Regions from separate parts of the Homo sapiens genome. Here region 2 is linked to region 1. Evidence: promoter capture Hi-C in human tissues and cell types (Jung and others, 2019). All regions are on one chromosome and are shown on one strand. Each heading gives the region's core, a stretch centred on a gene start or on the middle of the fragment in contact. The rest is flanking DNA. Distances are from core to core; before and after follow the strand shown. Region 1 holds the start of ZNF92 (zinc finger protein 92). Region 2 has its middle 22 kb from the start of SNORA22C.

The links. The method cuts DNA at HindIII sites, captures the fragments that hold promoters and counts their contacts. A contact is called where the count stands out against the background at its distance.
Region 2: a fragment that was not itself captured here is called in contact with the fragment with the promoter of ZNF92 in region 1 in 1 of the 25 tissues and cell types used here (hippocampus).

Annotation. Positions count from the first base shown.
Region 1 is chr7:65,367,758-65,375,360 of GRCh38, forward strand. It overlaps ZNF92 (zinc finger protein 92), which reads left to right and starts at 6,098. Exons shown (of 4, transcript NM_152626.4): 1 at 6,098-6,243. The coding sequence starts at 6,241. RefSeq lists a silencer at 5,963-6,233 and an enhancer at 6,129-6,528. The HindIII fragment of the contact is 8,860 bases long and covers 1-7,603 here.
Region 2 is chr7:65,040,782-65,047,506 of GRCh38, forward strand. It overlaps the pseudogene CCT6P3. Among named protein-coding and RNA genes, the nearest start is that of SNORA22C, 22 kb to the right of the region's middle. RefSeq lists an enhancer at 1,916-2,428 and a silencer at 6,057-6,257. The HindIII fragment of the contact is 9,741 bases long and covers 1-6,121 here.

The DNA of each region.
Region 1 (7,603 bases), core at 4,848-7,347:
CGCATGCTTACTTAAGAGCCAAGATGACTGCGAAATACAATGAGAATAATGCCTGTTTCATAGTTTCAAAATCCTTTTCTATAATTTAAAATATTAAAATCATATTACGGTAATTCAATAATCATCATAACATTTCTGAGTCATTTGTGTGTTAAAATACTAAAATATTGGCCGGGTGCAGTGGCTCATGCCTGTAATCCCAGCACTTTGGGAGGCCGAGGCAGGCAGATCACAAGATCAGGAGTTTGAGACCAGCCTGGCCACATGGTGAAACCCCATCTCTACTAAAAATACAAAAAAGTTAAAAAGGTAAAAACAACTAGACCTAGCAGACATGCTTAGTATGCCCCCAAGAAGCAACTGCAGATTATATATGTTACACCGTCTCAAAAAAACTAACAAACAAACAAACAAAACATACAATCCTGAGAAGAAAACTGAAACTTCGTGTACATTTCTGCTACATGGTGGGCCAGTTAAACGTTTGTACAGATATTTTACTGTAATTTTTAATGCATGTTTTCTGGTATTATAAAAGCTTTCTTATGCAAGAAGGCTGATGTTATAACAGTAGCTTAAAGGATATTAGGAAACATGTTTTCTTCACGGGACATTTCTGAAAAAGTCTCCAATGATAAGGATACTTATTTCATTAGAATAGTTGTAAAACGGTTAAATAAGGTATTATAGATCCACTAGTATTGAGCAAAGCTAAGTAAATTGATTGGATTGCTTTTGTAGTTGCAGATTGATGACAATCAGATCCACTTAGAGGGGAAAAAATGTGTTGACCCTTATAAAATAGTCATTGGAAGTCCTATGCACCTAATAATAGAACCTCATGCATCTTCTGCTACCGAAGTCTAATTATCACTAAATTCAGCAAGGCTTTAGGGCATTATGGCCAAGCATATTTTCACCAGGTAAAGAAAGCTAATAGTCTACTGACTGAGGATAGTAAAACCCTTTATACTCTAGAACCCAGAGATTGAGTCTGGTTGCCATCTGCACTGCAGCAAGACTTGAGGACCTTGAACCTTGATTTCATAATCTTATAACTCAGAAGGGGCCCTCCAATCTCTTGCAATTGTATACCCATTGGAGATTTTAAGGTAAAGTTAACCAGGGAAGATTCTCCTCAAAAGAAGATGGCAACCTTGATGTAAATAGCTGTTTACACAAGATAAAAAATCAAGACATCTCTGCTATCATGACACTCTTAGTTCACAGATTTTTTTTAATGGCTCTGTAAATAACAAAAATAAAAAAGGGGTCTCTTGTGTGCACTTATGGGGTATACTTTTATATGTAGAGAATTTTGCACCAAACCTTATATATGAACAAACTTATGCCTTGATAGGTAAAAGATGAAGGGCCAATGTAGGTGAGAAATTTTAATGGGACATTTGTTGCCTCATAATACCAGAAACAGAATATTGGTCCACTGCTCTTAACCTACTTCATAAGTTAAAGAGAACTTATTCAGAATTGGTTAGGGAGCATTGCCAGGAAGCCATTACTCCTCTGAATGGGCATAATTTTTAGGTCTTTTTTCCCATGGTTTAGAGTAAATGAGGCAATGGTTAGAAATTTATCCCCTATAATTGGGTCTGTAGCAGATTTTACTGTAAAGGCTATGGTTACACGATAGACTTTAAACTTTCTTATTAAAGTTGTGCTAAATGATGAATTTCTCTAGATTACTTACTGGATAAACAGAGAAGTATCTGTGCAGTTGCTAATACTTGTATTTGCACTAGAGAAATACATTGGATATTACAGAGATTCAGTTACAGGAGATTAATGAACAGGATGCTTGGTTGAAATGAATAGATCATTTATCTAGCTAATTATTTGATTTATTTAATTGTAGTTGGTTTGTTCATGGGGACCCTGGCTAAAAAGCGTACTTCAATCTCTTGGTATTACCCTCCTGATGTCAAAATAGTAGTCTCCCTACTGCACTGTATTCTCTCAAAAGTTATAAATGTTTGCATGCAGTCATCTCCAGAATGTCAAATGGTTTCTCATTAACTGGAATGACAAAAACTTAAAGACATATGTGACCATGAGGACACCATGACCTATGAATAACATAATAGATAAGGACAAAAACCCAAAACAATGGAAACTAAGTGGCACGAAGGCCCTGAGTTTTGGTCAAAATCTGACCCACATGAGAACTTAACCAAATGGAGGGAATTTTTAAAACAAAATTATCGGAGGCCACTATTCCTGACTGAGCTTGTGCACTAGGCCCAAACAGACCAAACCAAACCAAAATGGAGTCACTCATGCTAAATGTCACATAAACTGAAAATTTAAGGAAAGAGGTAGATCCTTAAGATCTATAGGCCAGGTTTTGTTTTTCATGTGTAAACAGTAGATTTCAACACAAGGAGGTCCTCTTACTGTAAGCCTTTAAAAAAATAACCTGAAGGCTTTATTTCCACTTTACGAAACCCACAGTTCTGTTACTTCACAGTGGGATTTGAAACTAAATAAGTACATTTTTAATGGTGACAGACTGATATCAGTGTCTAAAGTTTTGGTCTACATCTGAAAATTGAGAAGGTAACCAAAAGGGAAAAATTGTTAAATTAATTATAGCCTAAACCTGCCCCCTTTCCTGTATAAGTTTGGTCAATAGGTATTTTTCAAGATAGTAAACTGAAACCTAACTAGATATGTAAGTAGACTGTAACACATTCTTGTACCAACCACTGTGTTTTTGCCAATAAAAAAGTTAACTGTTCAAACAATGTTCAAATAAGGCAAATCCCAAGCTGTAATCAATCCGGCTGTTTCAGTACCTCACTTTCATTTTCTGTGTGTCACTTTGCTTTTTTTGTCCATAAATCTTTTTCTACCAGGTGGCTGTGCTGAAGTCTCTCTGAGCCTACTCTGGATCCACAGGCTACCTGATTTGCAAATTATTTTTTGCTCAATTAAACTCTGATAAATTTAATATCTCTAAAGTTGGTTGTTTTTAAGTTTTCAAATTTTTTACAATAAAAAATAATGTGTTGGGCTTTGATTTTCTAAACTCATCCCTCAGCGATTTTCCCAGATTATTCTACGTTCTTTCAAAATGCTTCTGCAATTTCTTTTTTTAAAAAAATTTTCGAGATAGGGTCTCACTGTATCACCCAGACTAGAGTGCAGTGGTGTAACCACTTATGGCTGACTGCAGCCTTGACCTTCCGTGCTCAAGCAATCCTCCTGCTCCAGCTCCCCGAGTAGCTGGGACTACAGGCATGCACCATTATGCCATTATGCCTGGCTAATTTTTTTAACTTTTTTCATGAAGACAGGATCTTACTATGTTGCCCAGGCTGCACTTGAACTCCTGAGCTCAAGTGATTCTCCCATCTCAGCCTCCCAAACTGCCAAAATTACAGACGTGAGCCACCGTGTGCATCTGCAGTTCTTGAGAGTATTAGCAATAATTAAACAGTACTATATGGGCATAAATTTGAAAGAATCTGGCATCTATTCTAGAAGGGTCACTCGCCAGGATTTCAAGGGTCTAAGGCAGTTACTTTGGTAGTGTTATTTATGGAGGTGCATTGGCTTTGGGGTCAGACAGAGTTGATCCTGAATCTCAGCCCAGCCACTTAGTAGATGTGGGTCTTTGGACAAGTTTCCTGATGTACAAGAGTTCTATAAACCACATATGCAAAAAAAGGTAGAATGATACTGATTGCAAAAATGGTAGCAATTTTTTATCCCTTCTATGTCCACGCCCGTTGCCAGGGATTTTTACAGCTGTTCCCATTGAGATCCAGAATCTGTTTTCCGAAACCTAGATCTGGCTGGCCTTGTTTGCTCAAGGCAGTAAAAACATGTGACCATGATAGCGTGCCAGTTTGGGGCTTAGCAGTCTTGAATGCTTCTGTTTTTCTTTCACAATGCTGCCATCTCTGTGAAAAAAAGCCCATGCTAGGCAGCTGGAGGATGACATACCATGGGGAGGAGAAGCAAGGTGTCCCTGTTGACAGCTCCAGAAGCGCACATCCAGAAGCACAGCTGCCTAGTTAACAAGCAGCTGATAACACATGTCTGAAGGAGCTCAGCTGAGATCAGAAGAATTGCTCCACTGAGCCCAGCTTAAATGACTGACCATCTCAATTGTGAGCTAAGAAGCCTTAGCTGGGTTGGGCGCAGTGGCTCACGCCTGTAATCCCAGCACTTTGGGAGGCCGGGGTGGGCGGATTACCTGAGGTCAGCAGTTTGAGACCAGCCTGACCAACAAGGAGAAACCCCATCTCTACTAAAAATACAAAATTAGCCAGGCGTGGTGGCGCATACCTGTAATCTCAGCTACTCAGGAGGCTGAGGCAGGAGAATCACTTGAACCCAGGAGGCGGAGGTTGCGGTGAGCTGAGATCGTGCCATTGCACTCTAGTTTGGGCAACAAGAGCGAAACTCTGTATTTAAAAAAAAAAAAAAGCCTTGGTTGGTTTGTTATGCTGCAATACCTAACTAATACGTGCACACAGTGCAGATAGGATGCCAGGATTTAATGACAGGTTGATTACTGGTTGTTATAGTTACCTTCCAACAGTTGGCACCCTAAAAGTGCTGATTTTTTTTTCTGCTCTAAAGTTGGATGTTTTGTAAGATAATATTGAGTAATGCAGAAAAATATGTAGGCATGTTTGCATGGGATTGGTACTTGTACTCACACAATCCCCACGCCACAGGAGAAAACAGATAAACACACTCTGGCCACTAGGGCCAGGCCAAATAGCAAAATAAGTTTACCTTTAATCTGTTTTCTCTATACTTAAACACTGGAAGTGATGACTGTGGAGAGATCTGAAGACATAGCGTTTAATCTCCTGTGGCCCCATCATCTTTTGGTTACTGTCTGATCTCTGGAAGAAAGGTGGGCAACAGGTGGCCAGCAGTGGTGTACCTGTGGTTATTTTATTCTTGCTGCCCTCTGCTCTTTCTATGGTGACTATCTTGTTCCACCCTCAAAACTGTAGAAAGATGTTGGTAAAGAGAGGCTGTCCCCTCACTTCTGGCAGAAAAGGGGTGTTCAGACCCTTCACCCTCCTGATGTCAGGGCTGCATTTCAATGTGGCAGCTATTGGCCATGTGTAGCTACTGGCTGCCTGGAATGTGGCTGGTCTGAATTGCAATGTGCTAGAAAGGTAAAATAGAGTTAATTTCAAAGATTCAGTTCCAAATAAATATATATACTTTATTAATAATTACATATCACTCACATATTAGAATAAGGTTTTAGATATATTGGGTTAAATTGTTACAATCAATTTCACCTGTTTCTTGTTTCTTTTTAAAGTTTGGCTGCTAAAAAATGTACAATTCACGTGTCGCCCACATTTTATTTTAGAGGATTGCCTTCTTTTTAAAATTTCAGGCTGCCTGCTTAAAAAAACAGAAGTTGGCCGGGCTCTGTGGCTCACACCTGTAATCCCAGCACTTTGGGAGACCGAGGCGGGCGGATCACAAGATCAAGAGATCAAGACCATCCTGGCCAACATGGTGAAACCCCGTCTCTACTAAAAATACAAAAATTAGCTGGGTGTGGTGGCGTGCGCCTGTAGTCCCAGTTCCTCGGGAGGCTGAGACAGGAGAATCGCTTGAACCTGGGAGGCGGAGGTTGCAGCGAGTTGAGCTCGTGCCACTGCACTCCAGCCTGGCGACAGAGCTAGACTCTGTCTCAAAAAACAAAAACCAAAAACAAAACAAAACAACAAAACCAGAAGCCAGGAAGGTCATAAAATCTGAAAATTTTGAATAATTGGTATTATATTCTTTGCATTTGTGAATAGACATATAATATACTATTTATAAATGCATATGGCCTTATTCACAAGGTTAAATGCAAATACTGTCTGGGGTGGGCCTGACTCAGCTCAGGGAGGAAGCCCCGTCTGAAAAGGCTGCAGCTTAGGCTGTCACTCTTCCTTCAGTCCAGCATCTGATCACATCTCCCGTCACTCAGGGCCCGAAGGGGCGGGGCCTTAAACGTTATCCAATCAGGAACGCTGGGCTGGGAACCATCCAATCAGGCACGCAACTGGAGCGGACAGCACAGCTTCCGGGATTTGGCGGGGCCTTTGTCTCTCGCTGCAGCCGGCGCTCCACGTCTAGTCTTCACTGCTCTGCGTCCTGTGCTGATAAAGGCTCGCCGCTGTGACCCTGTTACCTGCAAGAACTTGGAGGTTCACAGCTAAGACGCCAGGACCCCCTGGAAGCCTAGAAATGGTGAGCCTGCTGGGTCCCACATCCCGAGAGAGGGGGAGGGTCTGGCTGGAACCGATTGGAAGTGGCTGTGGCGGGCCTCGGGCCTTCCCGCAGTCGGCTCCGAGATCCGCGGCCCGAGTTCTCCTTGGCGCAGCTCGGCCCTCAGTCTCCTTCAGCCATAAGATGGCGGCTGGGCTGACAGCCGGGACCCCGGGCGTCCTGTCTCCTCCCTGCGCAGTGACTGTGCTTTGGCCTGGAGCCCTCCCTGGGCAGCTCTGCACCCGCAGCGTCGCATCTCTCGCCGAGTGTGCAGGGACGACGGGAGAATAGTAAAGAGAAGAATCCTGACTCGGGGTGCGGGGTTTATGAATGGGAAGAGCTTTGGTCCGTGTGGTTCTCAGGTCCTCTTTTTTCCTATTAAAAATTTATGGGAGTCAAGGTAAAAATATTGAAGAATTTAATCAAAGAGCGATTCAGGAATTTTAGAGCACCCAGCTATGATTTGTAGTTTGTGGTCCGTGGGAGGGGCTTGAAGGAAACACTTTTATAAGATGCATAATGAAAAAAAACAAGTTTAATAATTGGTTAGGTACAGTTACGTCGTTTTTTAATTTGTATGATTAAGGTAGAAATTTCCTGGTCATGTAATCAGAGATTGTCAGTTTATAGTTGGTTAAGCCTGAATTTTGTTCCCTCGGTGTTATTTACCCTCCCCTCCCCCCGCCAAAAATGCATTTGAATTATATTTTTTTTAAAGTAGGAACCCAGGGACTAGAGCCACCTCAATCTAATTGCCTGCCACTTAATTATTTTCACATCCACAGGGGACTGATTTTCCCCTGCAGTTTTCACATGTGTCCCAAGCAGGGTCTCAAGTCTACCCCCCATCCCTCATTCCTCCAGCTTAATTCTGGCTTGCAGTAAAATACTAAATTTCCAGTTCCTTCTGACATTCCCAAATGCCAACTTACCCTCCCTAATTCGCATTAGCAAGTGTGTTTCCTTTAGTGTACATTTTCGATGGCATATTTTAATTAATCATTTTTGGCAAAGCATTGGATGGCACGTTTTAAAAGATTTGTTTCCTGTTTGTAAATATTTCCTATGAGAAGAAAGCAAAGAATAATCCCCTAACATTGTATTGTAAATCTCTGTGCCTCTTTTCTTTTTATCTTCCTTAGGCACAGAGATCTTATCAGAATGTTTTTGGGTCATGGTTGCTTTCCCTTTGGAAACTTTATGGGGTGATGTGTTCTCAGCCACCCTTCAGTTCTTTTTCTGGTCCTGGGTTTTAGTACTGTCTGGGGCAAGATACCTACCATGGCAATGTCGCTAGAGTGTCTAGTAAATATCAGCTCCTGGGTCATTTTCTCTCGTAGAA
Region 2 (6,725 bases), core at 1-2,500, 330 kb before region 1:
GAGGTGGGTGGATCATGAGGTCAGGAGTTCAAGACCATCCTGACCAGCATGGTGAAACCCTGTCTCTACCAAAAATACAAAAATTAGCTGGGTGTGGTGGCATGTGCCTATAGTCCCAGCTACTTGGGAGGCTGAGGCAGGAGAATTGCTTGAACCTGGGAGGCAGAGGTTGCAGTGAGCCAAGACCACACCATGGCACCCCAGCCTGGGCAACAGAATGAGACTCCATCTCAAATAAATAAATAAATAAATAAATAAAAATAATTTAAAAAATTGACTTTTCTTTAAAAAGGTGTATTTAGCATACACTCTAAATATTCTCATAGTTATATCCTGCTAGAGCTGCGTGTTTGTGCATAAAACATCAAGTAGTATATTAAAAATATGTATAAGTACATGTAAGACTAAAGGTAACTGGATCTCTTTATAGTTTTAAATGTGAATTTAATATGTTGTGACTGAAAGTGATGTTTCATTGTGTAGCTGTGGACGTAAAATAGTTTAACTTAGATGCTTGCCAAAGGAGGGTAGGTAAAAATAAGATTTGCTAATAAGAAGAGTAGATAACTTATTTGCCATGTATACAGTGAAATTAAGAAATTTGTTCAATTTGATCAGCCTGTTTATAAACTACTTGCAAAAATCAAGTAGCTTATAAACTACTCATTTAATAAATGAATTTACAAATCAACTTGTTTTGCAGGTAGTTTATAAGCAGGCTGATCAAAATCACATATGTATATATATATATATAATCACATATATGTACATATATAGACTCATTTTCTTTTGGAAGTGCGTAGACAAAACATCATTGAAAGTTTTTATTTTGTCAAGCTGAAGGATACTTTTCTTTTTTTTTTTTTGAGACAGAGTCTTGCTCTGTCGCCCAGGCTGGAGTGCAGTGGCGCGATCTCGACTCACTGCAACCTCCACCTCCCGGGTTCACTCCATTCTCCTGCCTCAGCCTCCTGAGTAGCTGGGACTACAGGCGCCCGCCACAATGCCCGGCTAATTTTTTCTATTTTTGGTAGAGACGGGGTTTCACCATGTTAGCCAGGATGGTCTCAATCTCCTGACCTCGTGATCCGCCCTCCTCGGCATCCCAAAGTGCTGGGATTACAGACGTGAGCCACCGCGCCTAGCCTGAAAGAGACTTTAAATGAAAGCTGATTATTGGACACCTCAAGTTAGTTTCTTTTGAGTAGTGATTGCCGTGTAGCAGTAGTACTCAAATATGTAACTCTTTTAGGAAAACAAAGTTTAAGTCCAGAGGAAAGTTAACAGATAAAGATTCTGAAGAAAGTCATCTTCCAGGATCCAGAGTCAGCACGTGGTTTTGGATTGCTCAAACTCACTTTATTCTCATTTCACAAGCCCTAAGTGTCTTAATCCAAACACAATAAGGTAGAGATTAATGAGAGAATCTTGAGAGGCAGGTGTTATCTGTGTGTAAAGTCCTCTATTATTTTGGGGAGGCATAATGATGGAAAGTTCCAGATTTTATATTTCTAAAGAAATATTTCACTGAAATTAGTAGGCTACAATAGAAATGCTGATTTTTCAATTCTACCAGGTACAGCCAATAAAAACAATAACACACCACTATCTCCTGTCATCATCGTTTCATTTAACAAAAGGATATTTCCATTCAAACAATTTGAAAGAACAGAATCTCTCAGAATAGAAGATTTTTAAATGGAATCATTTAGCTATATGGAAAAGTTTACTTTCCGACCAGCCTGGCCAACATGCTGAAACCCCGTCTCTACTAAAAACACAAAACGAGCTGGGCATGGTAGCATGCACCTGTAATCCCAGCTACTCGGGAGGCTGAGGCAGGAGAATCACTTGAACCTGGGATGTGGAGGTTGCAGTAAGCCGAGATCGCGCCATTGCACTCCAGCCTGTGTGACAGAACGAGACTGTCTCAAAAAAAAAAAAAAAGTTTACTTTCGTGTCCTTACTTTTTCCCATTTTCCCATAAATCGGTGAAAACTCTGCTGCAAACCTGCACCAGCCTGCCAGCTAACATTCAGTTAGCAGTCCCTGCCCCTTGGTTTGGTACACTGAGCTCAAATCTAAGGGATCTGGGTGGGCTACCACCTCTCCCAGTTCTTAGGCTTGTGGCCTTATCTTCATGGTGCCTCAGTTTCTTATGTTAAATAGGGCTTTTAACACCTACTTAGGGCCTGGTGCAGTGGCTCACACCTGTAATCCCAGCACTTTGGGACGCTGACACCTGGCAGACCTCTTGAGCTCAGGAGTTTCAGACCAGCCTGGGCAACAGGGCAAAACCGTGTCTTTACAAAAAATACAAACGTTAACCGGGCATGGTGGCGCATGCCTGTATTTCCAGCTTCTTGGGAGGCTGAGGTGTGAGGATCACTTGAGCCTGAGAGGCAGAGGTCTGCAGTGAGCCATGATGGTGCCACTGCACTCCAGCCTGGGTGGTAGAGAGAGACCCTGTCTCAAAAAAAGAAAAACAAAAAAACCTACTTTGCCAGATTAGTGTTATGATGAAAAGTGATACATGTATGTTCCTGAAATAAAGCCTGTCCTCAGTTATAGCTGTTACCATTGATTGGAGATGTTCTTTTTTTTCCAGTGTTTGATAATAAATGCCTTTAAGTTAAGTTTCTTGTACATACTTGTTTATATCTTTAAACATTAATTGTTTTAATGTAGTTTATTGCTGACTTCATAGCATAGTATAAAGATGTGTTCATTTAAAACAATTTTGAAGTTGTGCAAGAGAAACTAATATGCAGAATATTCTTTTTTTTTTTTCTTTTTAGATATGGAGTCTCGCTGCTCTGTCACCAGGACTGGAGTGCAGTGGCATGATCTCAGCTCACTGCAACCTCCACCTTCCGGGTTCAAGTGATTCTCCTACCTCAGCCTCCCAAGTAGCTGGGATTACAGGCGCCCACCACCATGCCCGGCTAATTTTTGTATTTTTAGTAGAGACAGGGTCTTGCCATGTTGGCCAGGCTGGTCTTGAACTCCTGACCTCAGGTGATCTGCCTGCCTCAGCCTCCGAAAGTGCTGAGATTATAGGCATCAGCCACCGCGTCCGGCTGTAATATGCAGAATATTCTATGTAGGTATTTTCTATATATAAGACCCCCTCTAAGAAGGGTTTCTATGTAAGAATAGTACAAATGATCTGGAAAGGTTAATAGGCTTGACAAATCTACGTTTCTTAAAACTGTAAAAATAGTCCAGTTGTCCTATGGTATATGTAAAGAACATATACCATAGGGGATTGGTTCCAGGACCCCTGTTTTTACTGAAATCCTGGCATACCCAAGTCCACACTGTGGGCCCTGCAGAACCTGAATGTGAAAATTTGGGCCTCCATATATGCCGGTTTCGGTCTGCATTTGGTTGAAAAAGATCCACATATAAGTGAGCTCACGCAGCTTAAACCCGTGTTGTTCAAGGGTCCACTGCATTTGAAAATCAAGTCCATAAAAAAGTTGCCTTATTTTACAAAATGTTGGATTACTACCTCTCCCGTATCTTAAAAGTACCATCTATTTACTATCCCATTGAGATAATAAAACTTTTAGAATTAGAATAGAACCTAGGGCTGGGCATAGTGGTTCACGCCTGTAATCCCAGCACTTTGGGAGGCTGAGGTGGGTGGATCACCTGAGTTCAGGAGTTCAGGACCAGCCTGGCCAATATGGTGAAACCCCCTGTCTACTAAAAATACAAAAAATTAGCCGGGCGTGGTGGTGGGCACCTGTAATTCCAGCTACTCGGGAGGCTGAGGCAGGAGAATTGCTGGAACCCGGGAGGTGGAGGTAGCAGTAAGCCGAGATTGTGCCACTGCCCTCCTGCCTGGGCAACAAGAGGGAAACTCTGTCTTTAAAAAAAAAAAAAAAAAGAACCTAGAACTATTTACTGCTCCTTGCTTTGTCTGAGACTCAGAGGTTAAGTGACTTGCCCAAGGTAGCACAGGTAGTAGCAAATTGAGACTTGACACCTGGCTTCCAGAGTACTTATTTAAAGTCCCCTTTGCACCCCCATTTTAAAAATTAAATTCTTGGCCGGACACAGTGGCTCACGCCTGTAATCTCAGCACTTTGGGAGGCCGAGGTGGGCGGATCATGAGGTCGGGAGATCAAGACCATCCTGGCTAACATGGTGAAACCCCGTCTCTACTAAAAATACAAAAAAAAATTAGCCAGACATGGTGGCGCATGCCTGTAGTCCCAGCTACTTGAGAGGCTGAGGCAGGAGAATCACTTGAACCCAGGAGGTGGAGGTTGCGGTGAGCCGAGATCGTGCCACTGCACTCCGGCCTAGGTGACAGAGTGAGACTCTGTCTCAAAAAAAAAAAAAATTAAATTCTTGTCTAGGTAATGCATTCGCTGCTTCGGATTTGAAAGATAACAAAGCATGTACAGTGAAAAGTCTCCTTCATATCCCTTCCACCAAACAGACAGTTCTCCCTCTCAGTAGACCGCTGTGAAACTTTTCAGAGCCGTTTGACACATAGACAAACATCCATGTGACCATATGATTCCCTTTTTTTAACATGGGTGTATCGTGTATGCGTCCTTATTGATAGCCTGCTTTTTGCTTGGCATTTGTTCCATTGCTCCCATACTTTAAATGCTTATGTTCATATTTAGTGAAATGTTAATAACTGCTAGTACGTAAAAGAGAATTTGTTCTAGTAGTTTTGACTAACCAAGATAAATTTCAGAAATAAAATTCTTAACATTATCATTGTTTCTTGGTATGGAAATTTCAGAAGCAGGTTGAACTGAAAAGAGTCCAAGAGGAATAGAGAAATATCACAAGGAAGTGAATCTGGACTGTAGTAGAGATAAATGTTAATACTTACAGATAATGCTCACTATGTGCTAGGCAGTGTTCTAAATGTTTTGCATACATTATTGAAGTCTCTCAAGAGTCCCATGAGGCAGGTAGCTTTTATCACCATTTTACAGATGGGAAAACTGAGCCACTCAGACTAACATTTGATCCAGGTAGTACAGTGGCAGAGGCCTAATTCTAACCCACGCAGTCTGGCTCAAGAGTCCAAGCTCTTTACCACTACTCTTTCGTCTTCCTTTCTTCCTTTCCCTCCCACCCTCCTTCTTCCTTTCCTTTCCTTTCCTTTCTTTTCTCTCTTTCTTTTCCTTCCTTCCTCTTTAATTTTTTGAGACATTGTCTCACTCTGTCTCCCCAGGCTGAGTGCAGTGGTGCAATCATGGCTCACTGCAGCCTCAACCTCCCTAGGTCAAGTGATCCTCCCACCTCAGCTTCCTGAGTAGCTGGGTCTACAGTTGCGCACCCCACCATGCCTAGCTAATTTTTTCTATTTTTCATAGTGACCAGGTCTCACTTTGTTGCCTGAGTTGGTCTCAAACTCCTGGCCTCAAGCAGTCTTCCCACTTGGCCTCCCAAAGTGCTGAGATTACAGGTGTGAGCCACCACGCCCAGCCTTTTACCACTACTTTAAATTCCATTTAGATCTAATATTGATAGAGTGATAACCATATCAACCAGATTTTTAAAATATGCAAACGATGGTGCCAGTTTCTGTATCTGTGACAAAAATATATAGAGTTTGTATTATAGCTTTTACCTGTTTAGAGCACTCTTTGGAAAGGCAGGGAAATTACTGTGAAGGTATTGGTATTCCAGAAGTAAGTTCCTGGAGTGTTTTGCCTTCTAAGGTGTGAGGACGTGGTTTGTCACACCCAGTTAGCTATCAGATAGTGTAGTGAGCTATCCGGAAGACTTAGCAGGTTAGCCTAGGGAGGAAGGAGAAAGGGGTTCTGGGCACATGGAGGGAGGGGGAGGGAAAAGAGTTTGTTTTTGTCCTAGATTGGGGTAGCTTTTTCTGAGGGAGGCCTTGTCCTGTGGACCTGCTGCATATAAAGACAGGAGAATTGGACCTGAGGTGTGGTGCTAGCTAAAGCGCCACACAGATCTGGGAATTTAAGAGGAGTTCATTTCCTCAATCATTAGGAAGAACTTGAAGGGGTAGCAAACTGTGGTCATTTGAGAAGAATAGCAAGTGGTCATATTTGAATGTAACATACTCAACTGGGTTGGGAAAGAACCAGAATCTAGATCTTGCCCATAACAAGTGCAAAACCAGGCGTTCTTGTAAACCATGTACTCTTGTAAACACTGATAAGACATAGCACTGAGTCTTGGGCTTTTCTTCTATAAAGTTGTTGTACTGGTTGAGGATCCCTAATCCAAAAATCCAAAATCTGAAATGCCCCTGTGAGCATTTCCGTTGAGTGTCATATTGGCACTCAAAGTTTTGGATTTTGAACCATTTCAGATTTTGGACTTTCAGATTTGGGATGCTCAACCCGGTATATAATGCACATATTCCCAAATCTGAAAAAATCCCAAATCCAAAGTATTTCAGCTCCAAAGCTGTTTCAGATAAGGAATACTCAACCTGTACTACATTGTACTAGGCTTGTATTAGATTCCCAGTTTTCAAAATTTGTATCTCAGAATCCCTGTTCTCTGTCAATGAAACAGGGATTTCATACACCTTTGATTCACATTTTAATGTTTTAACTTTAAAATATTATAAATGTTTAAACACAGTCAAATGCATCTCATGCTAAATTTTAATATATTAGAGACAACTGATTTGTACTGCCAGGTTATCTCAAGAGAGTTATACTGAGTGAAAACAAGTGAGAACCCTAGAAGGTTATATACTGTATGATTGC